Linked DNA regions of Homo sapiens: region 1 is linked to region 2. The links are contacts of gene promoters, found by promoter capture Hi-C in blood cells and fetal thymus (Javierre and others, 2016). All regions are on one chromosome and are shown on one strand. The core of a region is centred on a gene start or on the middle of the fragment in contact, and the rest is flanking DNA. Distances in the headings are between cores, read along the strand shown. Region 1 overlaps ODR4 (odr-4 GPCR localization factor homolog). Region 2 holds the start of IVNS1ABP (influenza virus NS1A binding protein).

What was found. Contacts are between HindIII fragments. The CHiCAGO score rates a contact against its expected background, and 5 or more counts as called.
Region 1: a contact is called between a fragment that was not itself captured here and the fragment with the promoter of IVNS1ABP in region 2, in 1 of 17 cell types (fetal thymus). The highest score is 8.2, in fetal thymus.

Annotation. Positions count from the first base shown.
Region 1 is chr1:186,380,202-186,385,400 of GRCh38, forward strand. It overlaps ODR4 (odr-4 GPCR localization factor homolog), which reads left to right. Exons shown (of 14, transcript NM_017847.6): 3 at 2,821-2,955. Among named protein-coding and RNA genes, the nearest start is that of ODR4, 7.0 kb to the left of the region's middle. The HindIII fragment of the contact is 1,244 bases long and covers 1,554-2,797 here.
Region 2 is chr1:185,314,788-185,320,311 of GRCh38, forward strand. IVNS1ABP (influenza virus NS1A binding protein) reads right to left here and starts at 2,456. Exons shown (of 15, transcript NM_006469.5): 1 at 2,166-2,456. It overlaps CBSLR (CBS mRNA stabilizing lncRNA), which reads left to right and starts at 2,665. Exons shown (of 4, transcript XR_007066771.1): 1 at 2,665-3,490. RefSeq lists enhancers at 1,782-2,395, 3,045-3,144, 3,395-3,474 and silencers at 1,885-1,944, 2,405-2,714. The HindIII fragment of the contact is 11,176 bases long and covers 762-5,524 here.

The DNA of each region.
Region 1 (5,199 bases), core at 926-3,425, 1.1 Mb after region 2:
TGTATTCCCTTCTAATCTTTTTAATATCTGGTTGTCCAGTTCTTTACAAAAGAAGCTTTTGAAAATTTTATTCCTGTTCTAATTTGTGTTGTCTTATATCAGACTTATGGCAACAGTGGTCATATTTTTGTTGTAAGCTATAGTACCCATCTTACTGAATTTTTTGTTGTTGTTGTTGGATCAATAGGGAGGGAGAGGGATTGGGAAAAATTTGGAAATTAGACAAATTCTAATTTCCTCTTAGAGCTGAGTCTTAAAAACACAAAATGGAACAGAGATTCAGATACTTATTTTAAAACCCATGCCACTGATTTCTTATGAGTGAAGGAAGAACGTGTTAATCGGCAGGAGGGACCGGTCAGCAGTACAAAGCCAAAAAAAAAAAAAAAGGAGAGTCACACAGGCAAGCTGACTGTGTCCATCCAAACACAGGAGAGTGCACTTTGGCCCAAGGACTTGATTTTGAGGCCTACTAGCCAATAAAGCTCTTATTGGGACAATTTTCTTTCTAGATATCTTAGCCTGATGCCTTAGAATCTTCAAATTACATAATTAACTTTCCTTATTCTGATTCTACCCATATTCCCAAGCTACTTTCTTTTATAATTTGATGCCCCATGTTATCTACTTATAAAGAATACACTGTCCAGAGGACTCAAGTGTTCAGATGCCTTCATGACATTTTAGTTTTCTACATCATTCTGAATAAACTTAATCAATGTCAGTCTAGCCATGAAAGACAGGCTCATTTTCAGAATTTTTACAAATCAGATTTCTTAATTTGCAAGACAGAGGGCAGATCTACATGGTTCAACCAGGTAGCACCACTCTGTGAGGCCTCTCATTAGACAGCCAGACTGCCTCTCTTGAGAACAGTGTGAATTTCTTTTTAATTCAGTTGTAATGTGGGGCTCTTTTTGTTAGGAGTTTTCTATTTAAGTTTTTTTCTTTCTCTTTGTTTAAAACATTTAAGAGAAGAAGAGTCTTAGAGAAAGATGTGATCAGTAGAGATAAAAAGTCAGGGAGAAAGACCCTCTTCTAAATTTGTCTTAACTGGATAAAGGTTGTTTCTAAAGCTCAGGCAAACTGCCATCTTACAAATGAGTGTCTCATAATTTAAGGCCTTCCTTCTTTTTTTTTTTTTTGAGACGGAGTCTCGCTGTCGCCCAGGCTGGAGTGCAGTGGCGCAATCTCGGCTCACTGCAGGCTCCGCCCCCTGGGGTTCACGCCATTCTCCTGCCTCAGCCTCCCGAGTAGCTGGGACTACAGGCGCCCGCCACCTCGCCCGGCTAATTTTTTGTATTTTTAGTAGAGACGGGGTTTCACCGTGTTAGCCAGGATGGTCTCGATCTCCTGATCTCGTGATCCGCCTGCCTCGGCCTCCCAAAGTGCTGGGATTACAGGCGTGAGCCACCGCGCCCGGCCTAAGGCCTTCCTTCTATCTCTTTTTATGCTGTAGTATGTATTGCTCACGGACAGAGCAATTCATTCCTTTCAGTATTCTACGTGCTTTTTCTTCCAGAGTTCATTACTTTTTCCTCTCCTTCCTCTTAAGCTTGCCTGTTTCCTGGTCTCTGTCAGTTTCTTTTTCTTTTCAAAGTTATACATTTTATGAAGAAAAGAGGAGCCTTCTTAACTGAGACCTACTTTCTTTTCCTGTGTTTATTTGAATGTAACTTCCTGAAAATAACCTGTAGGAATAGTTACTCTTATTTTCTATCCCAAGATGATACTAATGATCAGAGTTTCAGGTCATGTGTGGGGAAGATACAATGCTAACTTGCATTAGCAGTGTTATTTTCACTCTTTTTTTATAGGAAACTTTCACTGTAGTGAAACTGAGCTATTGAATGTTCCCCTACATTTATTTTTAGATCTCCCAACTTTGGTTACTACTTAACTGATATTACAGCTGAAGAACAGATTGGGTGTGGTGGCTCATGCCTGTAATCCCAATGCTTTGGGAGGCCGAGGTGGGAGGATTGCTTGAAGGTCAGAGTTTGACCTAGCCTGGGCAACATAGCAAGACTCTGTCTCTACAAAAAAGTAAAAAAAAAAAAAAAAAAAAGCCAGGCATTATGGCTGATTGTTTGAGCCTGTAGTCCTAGCTACTTGGGAGACTACTTGGGGGGAGGATTGCTTGAGCCCAGGAGTGCAAGGTTGCAGTGAGCTATGATCACACCACTGCACTCCAGCCTGGGCATTAGAGCAAGACCCTGTCTCTAAATAAATAAATAAATACACACACACACAAAGAACAAAAAACAAAACAAAACAAAAAACTTGAGGAACATAGAATCTGTATCACTTTAAATTGTGTCCCAAATCCCCTTTGTTATTCTGTGGAAATGTATGTGGAAGTTCCCTACTGTCATCATTTCAATTAAAATAAGATACAAAAGGTCACTTGTTGTTTCATTTTACTAATATTTTCCGATCTGTTCATTTATAACTTATAAAACAAATATAACTAGAAAACTGAATAAGCATATTACTTTTTAGTTAATGTAATTCATTCACTCATCCAGTAAACCATTTTTAGGGACCACTCCATGATTTACATTTGAGTTGTCCAAATAAATAAGAAGCTGATATTAAATACATTAAAAGATAAACAACATGTGAGGGAAAGATTGTAAGGCCATCCTTGAAAATTAGCTTCCCTTTAGCTTCCATTATAATGTGGGTATTAATGATTTAACCTGTTACAAATATTACTCAGTTTTTGCATGTCATAAAAGCTAAGGAATTTAGGTATCACTCTAATTAGATTGAGGAATCAGATATCACTCTAACAAGCTTTTTAATTTGTTGTTGAAGTGTTCGTCACAAAAGGATTATGTGATTCTTGCCACTAGAACGCCACCCAAAGAGGAGCAAAGTGAGAACCTCAAACATCCCAAAGCTAAGTTGGATAACTTGGATGAAGAATGGGCCACAGAACATGCCTGCCAGGTTATCTTATTTTTTTGTTTATATGTTTAAGTTTTATTTCAAAAAAGAGCTAGAATCAAGAAGATTTAGTGAATGAGTAGAGAGAAGAGACATAGGGAGAAAGTAGCTAAAGATGACTGAGATTTTTAGTCTGGGTGTCTAGGAGGATACTGTTGGCATTACACGAGGAAGAAACAGATTTGGGATGGGTGAGTGGGAATAATGACTAAATTAATTCACTTACAAGTATTTATTGAATGAATTATATATCATCAAATAAATAATGTTAGAATAAGGTAAAAATAGAATTATTTCCTTTTCTGGGGTTGGGGGTGAGGGGAGGGAACTTAGAGGACAGGTCAATAGGTGCAGCAAGCCACCATGGCACACGTAAACCTATGTGACAGACTTGCACATTCTGCGTTTTTGTTTGTTTGTTTTAAGAAAAAGAATTTTCTTTAATAAATAAAAGATTTATTTCCTTTTCCAATCAACTTTAAATCTTTAAATCTTTTAAACTCAAACGTGTTTCTGTGTATGTAGATATATATATATATATATATGGACATATATTTGTGTCTGTGTATGTGTTTGATTATGGAGCAGTGTGTAGTTATATTTAAAAAAAAAATAAAATCTTGCCTGTAATCCCAGCACTTTGGGAGGCCAAGGTGGGTGGATCACCTGAGGTCAGGAGTTCAAGACCAGCCTGGCCAACATGGTGAAACCCCGTCTCTAGTAAAAATATGAAAAACTAGCCAGGTGTGGTGGCAGGTGCCTGTAATCCCAGCTACTTGGGAGGCTGAGGCAGGAGAATTGCTTGAACCTGGGAGGCGGAGGTTGCAATGAGCCAAGATCACACCATTGCACTCCAGACTGGGCGACAAAGCGAGACTCTGTCTCAACAAAACAAAACGAAGAAATCCAGTATTTAATTATTATTGTTTTAGTCTGTTTGGGTGGCTATTAAGGAATACCTAAGACTGAGTAATTTATAAAGAAAAAAAGGCCTGTTTGGCTCATGATTCTGCTGGCTGCAAGATTGAGCATCTGGTCAAAGCCTCAGGCTGCTTCTGTTCATGTCAGAAGGCAGATTGGAGCTGGTGTGTAAAGATCACTGGGCCAGAGAGGAAGCAAGGGGTTGGGAGGTGCTAGGCTTTTTTTTTTAACAACCAGCTCTCGTAGGAACAAATATAGCGAGAACTCATTCACTGCTCTGAGGATGGAACCAAGCCATTAATGAGGGATCTGCCCCATGACCCAAACACCTTCCATTAGGCCCCACTTGGGTTCACATTTCAACATGGTGTTTAAGGGGACAAACATGGCAACTATCTTCTAAAGAAAATATTAAGTAATGTAAAGTTAAATTCCCAATGGTTTGTAAATAACTTTCTACTCTAATTTTGCTTTTGGTCTCTCATAAAATTGTATATGACACACACACACACACACACACACACACACACAGAATATTAATGAATTTATATAGTAAATTAGCTTAACCTTTTACCTCTAGAAAGAAAAGGTTAATTTTACTTTTTCCCCTTTCTTGCTCTCACCTCCATCTCCTAAAAAATGGTTACTTTTTTGTGTTGGTGATTTTGAAAAGATATGCAGGCTCCTTATGCTAAATATGAAAACTTTATTTGTCAGAATTGTGCTACTATAGTAAATAGAATTTATTAAATCAGAGGAAAACACCGAAAGACATAGTGCAAGTAGATTAAGGATTAGAGCATGGTACCTAATTTTCTAAGACTGTACTCTGATTGATTGCTTGTACATTAAGTAATCAAAAGCTAACCAAAACACTCTAATCTCTGAGTGTAGATGATAGAAAAAAATCCATGTGGTATTAAGAACTAGCCACAATCATGTGAAGGGAAATACAGATATGGAGATATCATGGTAGTATGTATCAAAAACCTTAAAAATATGTATAACTTCTTAAACCAGTTATCCACCTCAAGGGATTTGTCCTAAACAAATAATTCTATGAATGCAGAAAGATGTACTAGGATTTTTAATCAATATTATTTTAAGGTAAAATTAGATATAGCAAAGATGCCCAGTATCAGTAAGTGGGCTTAAAAATTTGAGGTTAATCTATGCAATAGAAAATAATGGATTTTCAAGTCAGACTCCCTCTGTTCAAATTCCAGATCTAGTATGCTGCTAAAAATAGGGATACAGAGGTAGAATTACTTATTCCCTTAAGGAGCTCCCTGACCAACTAGTAGGGTTCACAGATAACTATGATAT
Region 2 (5,524 bases), core at 1,206-3,705:
ATGTGGCATCCTTATTAAAATCAATTACCAAAAAGCATAACACAAAGTCGTTTATAGTTTGCTACATGGAGAAGGGAAGGAAGGAAAGGAAGAATTTGGTTTGAGACGTTCTAATGCTGAGGTATCTGCATGTTAATAACAAAAATATAATAGTATGATGTTAAGTATAGGTTCAGAAACATTTACAAGATATACAACTTGTAGTTTACAAGTATGTATTTTCTGTTGTTTTAACAAAAACCCAGAAATCAATCTCTTACTCACAATACTTCAATCTACACACACACTAGCACATGCACATGACATGGTGGGAAGACCCCCAACCTTTAATAATTCCTACTTGCAGGATTTGACTATACAATCGCACTGCTAAAAAGTGGATGAAATGACTTACTTAGTGTTACTTCATCTTAATATCAATTAAGATACTTCCTTAACAGGAAAACATTTATATTTAAAAACGTATTTGCAAAACTACATTTAATTACCATCTAACAAATCCTTCAAGCAAGAAAAAATCCCACCTTCCAAAAGCAAGTAGCCAAAAAGACACTAATTTAAAACTAAGACTAAAACCTGAAATGTTTTGTCTTGGGGGGAAAGTTAGAAAATCAACTACAAATTAAGACAATGGCTATAGAAATTAGTATCTATTAGTTAACCAGAGATATCATCTATTAGGAAAACACAGAGGAAAACCATTCCAGGGCTCTCTTTGGTCAGTGGCTCAAGTTCCGTTTACCTCTGGCTACCAAATTATAAGCTTGATAAGCAGCCTGCCAGCTGGCGTTAAATGATACTAGTCTCAATTCAATTCTAAAGTCCATGTTTACCTCACGTCCAGACTTAACAAATACAACTACTCTTTCAGTATCTTTAAGACAGAAGTGTCAGCAGGCTTTAGCCTAAAAGTAATCATCAGTATTTTGTTTTTCCTAAATCAATCACTGGTGCTAGAATTATTAAAAGAAAGCATGGCCTGTGGCAGTCTAGTCCATGCTGTACTTATTCATCTGTTAAGAGTGGTACTAGGCTTCCAGAGTTGTCATCTATTAGTAGACAGAAGACCACGACACACTCAACGAACAGCTTGATGCCAAGGTGTTCTAACGCTCCATCACTGCACGCTCCATCACAAAAATGCGCCCTTTTGGACATCTGATTTCTCCTTGAAATGTCAGCTGTCTCAAACCAATAGATATGTCCACTACCTATTGGGGGAAAAAGTAAATGTAGTTCTCAAGTAGTGGTTCAAGTTACCCTAGGTTCAACCCTCAGCCTGATACCTTCCTATCATCAAGAGCTTATAATCAGAGACACTTAACCAAAAGCGTGGAGGGACGGAAAAAGAGCAAATCTTGCCACTGATTTCTTTCATAAAAAAGAAAGAGCGTCCCAGGCCTTCCTCCTCGCGCAGCCAGGCCGGCGCCCACTCCGCAGGCTGCGAGGCGAGGCCCCCAGCACCCGCACACCCCCGCCCCGGATTGGCCAGCCCCGCAGTCACTCAGTACCGACACGTCAGGGCAGCCGCTCCCTCCCTCCTCCCGCCCCCTTCTCCCCGCGCTTGGCAAGAAAAGCGGGCAACGTGGAGCGGGAACAAAGGACCCCGCGGCCCACGGCGATCGGGGACTCCGTGCCACCCTACTCCAGGCCCGGGGCTGGCTGCCCGCCCACACGAGCCGAGTCTCGAGAGCTCTTCCAGAAGAGAATCCCAAACCCCAGGCAAACCCGAGGCGAGGCGTCCGTTCCTGACAGCAAGAACGGGGAGTCCCGCGCCCTCCTTCCGGCGGGTCATCCCCGCCCGCGGCGCCCTAACCCAGGCCCCCCAAAACCCTTCGAACAAAAAACTCTTGTTCCTCCCAGCCTGCCTCACCCGCGCCAGTGTAGCAAAGGGGCTCCAGCCTCCGCGCTCTCCGAGGCGACCGGCGCCCGCTCTCGGCCGCCAACGCAACTTGGCAACCATGGCAGCGCTGGAGCGCGGGCCCAGCGCGGCGCGGGCTTCACGTCCCAGAGGGCGGCGGCGGCCGCTTGGGGCTGCCTCCCCTGATGAGGACACCGCTTCCGCGCCTCCCACCCTCTTCCCATCCGCCGGCGCCATCCCTTCTTCTCGGATTCTAGCCGCGCCGTCTCCCTCATCTGTCGTTCGTAGAACCAGCGCGTATTACCTGGTTCATCTCTGAAGAGATGGAAACATTCATTTCTAGAGCTTCGATGGGAAGCAGGAGGAAGCGGGCGGGAATCGGCCCAACGGAAAGCGCCAGAAGGCGGCGGAAGACGGGAGCGGTCAAGTAGAAGGACGAGGGGCCAGTCCGTGGAGACTGAAAGGAAGGGGGAGCGCCACCGAGAACTCGCGGGAACTCGCTCGCTCGCCGATACAGCCGCGCCGAAGCAGCAGGCGGAGAAACTGCGCCCAGCAGCTCTGAGCGACCGACCTCCACGCGCGACCGGGAGACACTGCCTCCGCCGCCGCCGACCGCTCGCGCCGCACCCCCTCGCACGTCACCACGTGCGCTGCCGCCGCCGACGCCTCCCAGCCCGCTTCCGTCTCGAATCCATCTGCAAATCACAGGCGAGCTCCATAAAGATCCCACTCTAAGCCCCGCCCCACCCGCGGCCCCGCCCACATCCCGCCCCGCCTTCCTCCCTGGTCTACTGGGGTTCCTTCCTTCTCGGTGTAACTAGGTCAGCGCAAGGTGATCCTGAGGAGATAGGCGGCGCTCGGGGGGCGCCCTCGTTCCTCTTATCGCGCCTTTGTCCCTCCCTCCGTTCCTTGCCCCGCACCCTCACTTTCGCCGCCCTGTGCGTTGCCTGTCCCGGAACTGGTTCCCTCAAGCCGCCCTCACCTGTTCTGACTTCCCCTCGAGGCACAATAGCCTGAGAGATCAGACGTGGGAGATTAGATTGCTCGGCGTCAGACCTACTTCTAGGCAACCCCCCCTAGACTGGAGCTGCTCGTCGTGGACATTAGGATCTAGTTGGGCATGAGCCCTTAACTTAAGGGTCGGGGGGGAAGTGGCGGGTGCGGAGAGGAGGCGTGGAGAGTGTGAGGAAGAAGAGAGGCACTCTGAGAAGAAGTCGAACAACTAACCCCTCATTTGGCCTGGTTTGGGTGAGAAGATTGAGTCACTTGGGGAAAAAAATATTGGAGAAGTCAGAGAAGGTGTAAATCAGTGGTGCCACAAACACCAGTTTACTTCCACTTTTCACCCCCCGGGTCTGTTTTGTCTGCGTGCAGCTCTCCTCGTGTCGGAGACGCTGAGTCAGTTCTCTACTGGTCTTGCCCTCTTCCGGAAAAAGAAAACACACCTGAGAAGTGGTAGTTCCTATCCTAACCTACTGGGGCCCTTTATACCAGGTGCCAAACTTCATTATCCACCCCACCACCTTGCCCGGGAGGGAGATCTGTGAAAGCGAAACGTGATTTAAGCTGGGATCTGGCAGCAACTTCGTGGACTCTGAAGGGCACGTGGGAAAGGAGTTTTGATTGAAGGTGAGGGATTTAGTGAGGTAAAATTATATCCAAATTAGAGTTTGGTAAAGGCTTCCAGGTTAATGTCCTGTTAACGCTTATCCTGATTTGTGGAGGACACTTAAGCTGTCTAGGCCTAACCTTGTGTTTGATCACTCACCTTAATTTGTAGACATTCTAGGAGCTCTTTGTCAATGCCTCTTACCATTTTTATCATTAACTATTTATGCTTATAGAAGCAGGAAAAATAAATTGTGGGAGCCTTCATCTGCAATAGGTTTACAACTTTTTTTCTAAAATCTTGAGGCAAGGAGACTTATTCCCCCGCCCCTTTTTTTCTCACAGATTTCTTGTATGTCTCCCTCGCCCCGCCCGCACCCCGTCCCCCCGCCCCCGGACAATTAATTGTAGGAGGAAACAAGAACTAAGATGTCTATTCGAGTGATTTTTTATATCTTTCTTAAGGAGAAAAAGACTGACATTTGACACTGTGCTCTTGTTTTGTCTTGCTGATAATAACTGACAGCAATGTTTACTTTTCTTACAAATGAAACTATCAGGGTACGTACTTTTAAGCTCTTTAATACAATGGGTTTCATCCTTCCAGTGGGAGAGTATGAATTGCCCACTCTGCGTAGACACATGACTGCTGGCCTGTTGGACACATGGTCACACTTGCTATACTCTAAATAGTGTCTTTGTGACCTGAAACAGTCAACACTTTTCTTAAAGCTACAGTGTGCCCACACTCATTGTATTTTTGCTTTGTATGGAATTTCAAATTTACTTATTACCTTCTCTATGAATAATAGCATAACTTATGCATTCCATTTATGCCTTTCAGGGAACCTGATGGTTAATTTCTACCTCTTAAAGTAACACATTATGTTGTAAGATTTTGCTCTTAATATAGCAGTCCCCCTTATCCTTGGTTTCACTTTCCAAGATTTTGTCAACCATGGCCCAAAAATGTTACATCACTACTCTTGCATTTGGGGGGTATTATTACATAAAATGATAGTTATATGAACACAAGCACTGTCACACTGCAACAGTCTGACAACCCAGACAGCAACTGGCTAATGGCAATCTGGGCAGGGACAGAGCAGACTGTGCTCCTCAGAATGGTGCACAATTTAAAACTTATGAATCGTTTATTTCTGGAATTTGCTATTTATGTCACAATACTTATGTCATTCACCTCACTTCATCTCATCATGTAGGTATTTTATCATCTCACATCACAAGAAGGAGAAGGGTGAGTTCAGTACACTAAGATGCTTTGAGAGGGAGACCATACATAACTTTTATTACAGTACACTCTTAAAATTGTTTTATTTTATTATTATTATTTTTTGAGACAGAGCTTCTTGTCTCCCAACCAGGACTATAATGGCACAATCTCAGTTCACTGCAACCTCCGCCTCCAGGTTTCAAGTGATTCTTCTGCCTCAGCCTCCCGAGTAGCTGGGATTACAGGTGCCCGCCACCACGCCTGGCTAATTTTTGTATTTTTAGTAGAGGTAGGGTTTTGCTGTGTTGGCCAGGCTGGTCTCGAACTCCTGACCCCAGGTGATCTGCCCACCTCGGCCTCCCAAAGTGCTGGGATTACAGGCATGAGCCATGGCGCCCAGCCTGTTCTATTTTATTATTATTGTTGTTAATATCTTACTGTGCCTAATTTATAAGTGAAACTTTATCATAGGTATGTATGTATAGGAAAAAACATAGTGCATTTAGAGTTCAATACTAAGGTTTCAGGCATCCACTGAGTGTCTTGGAACACATCCACCAGGCATAAGGGGGTGGGGGTGACTACTATACTTAGGTAAGATTTATTTGGAGAGTGCTTAATAAAAATTATGAATTTCTTGCATACCTATTTTGTGTCAGGTCCTGAGAAAGATAATCAGGAATTGGTGTCAATCTGCCATCTTTTCTTTATTCACCCTGATCCTGCTTCAGATGTTGTCTCCATCCTTAACTGACTTGTGTTTTGTTTATTCTTGATGTATTAGTTTGCTAGGGCTGCCATAACAGACTGAATGGCTTAAA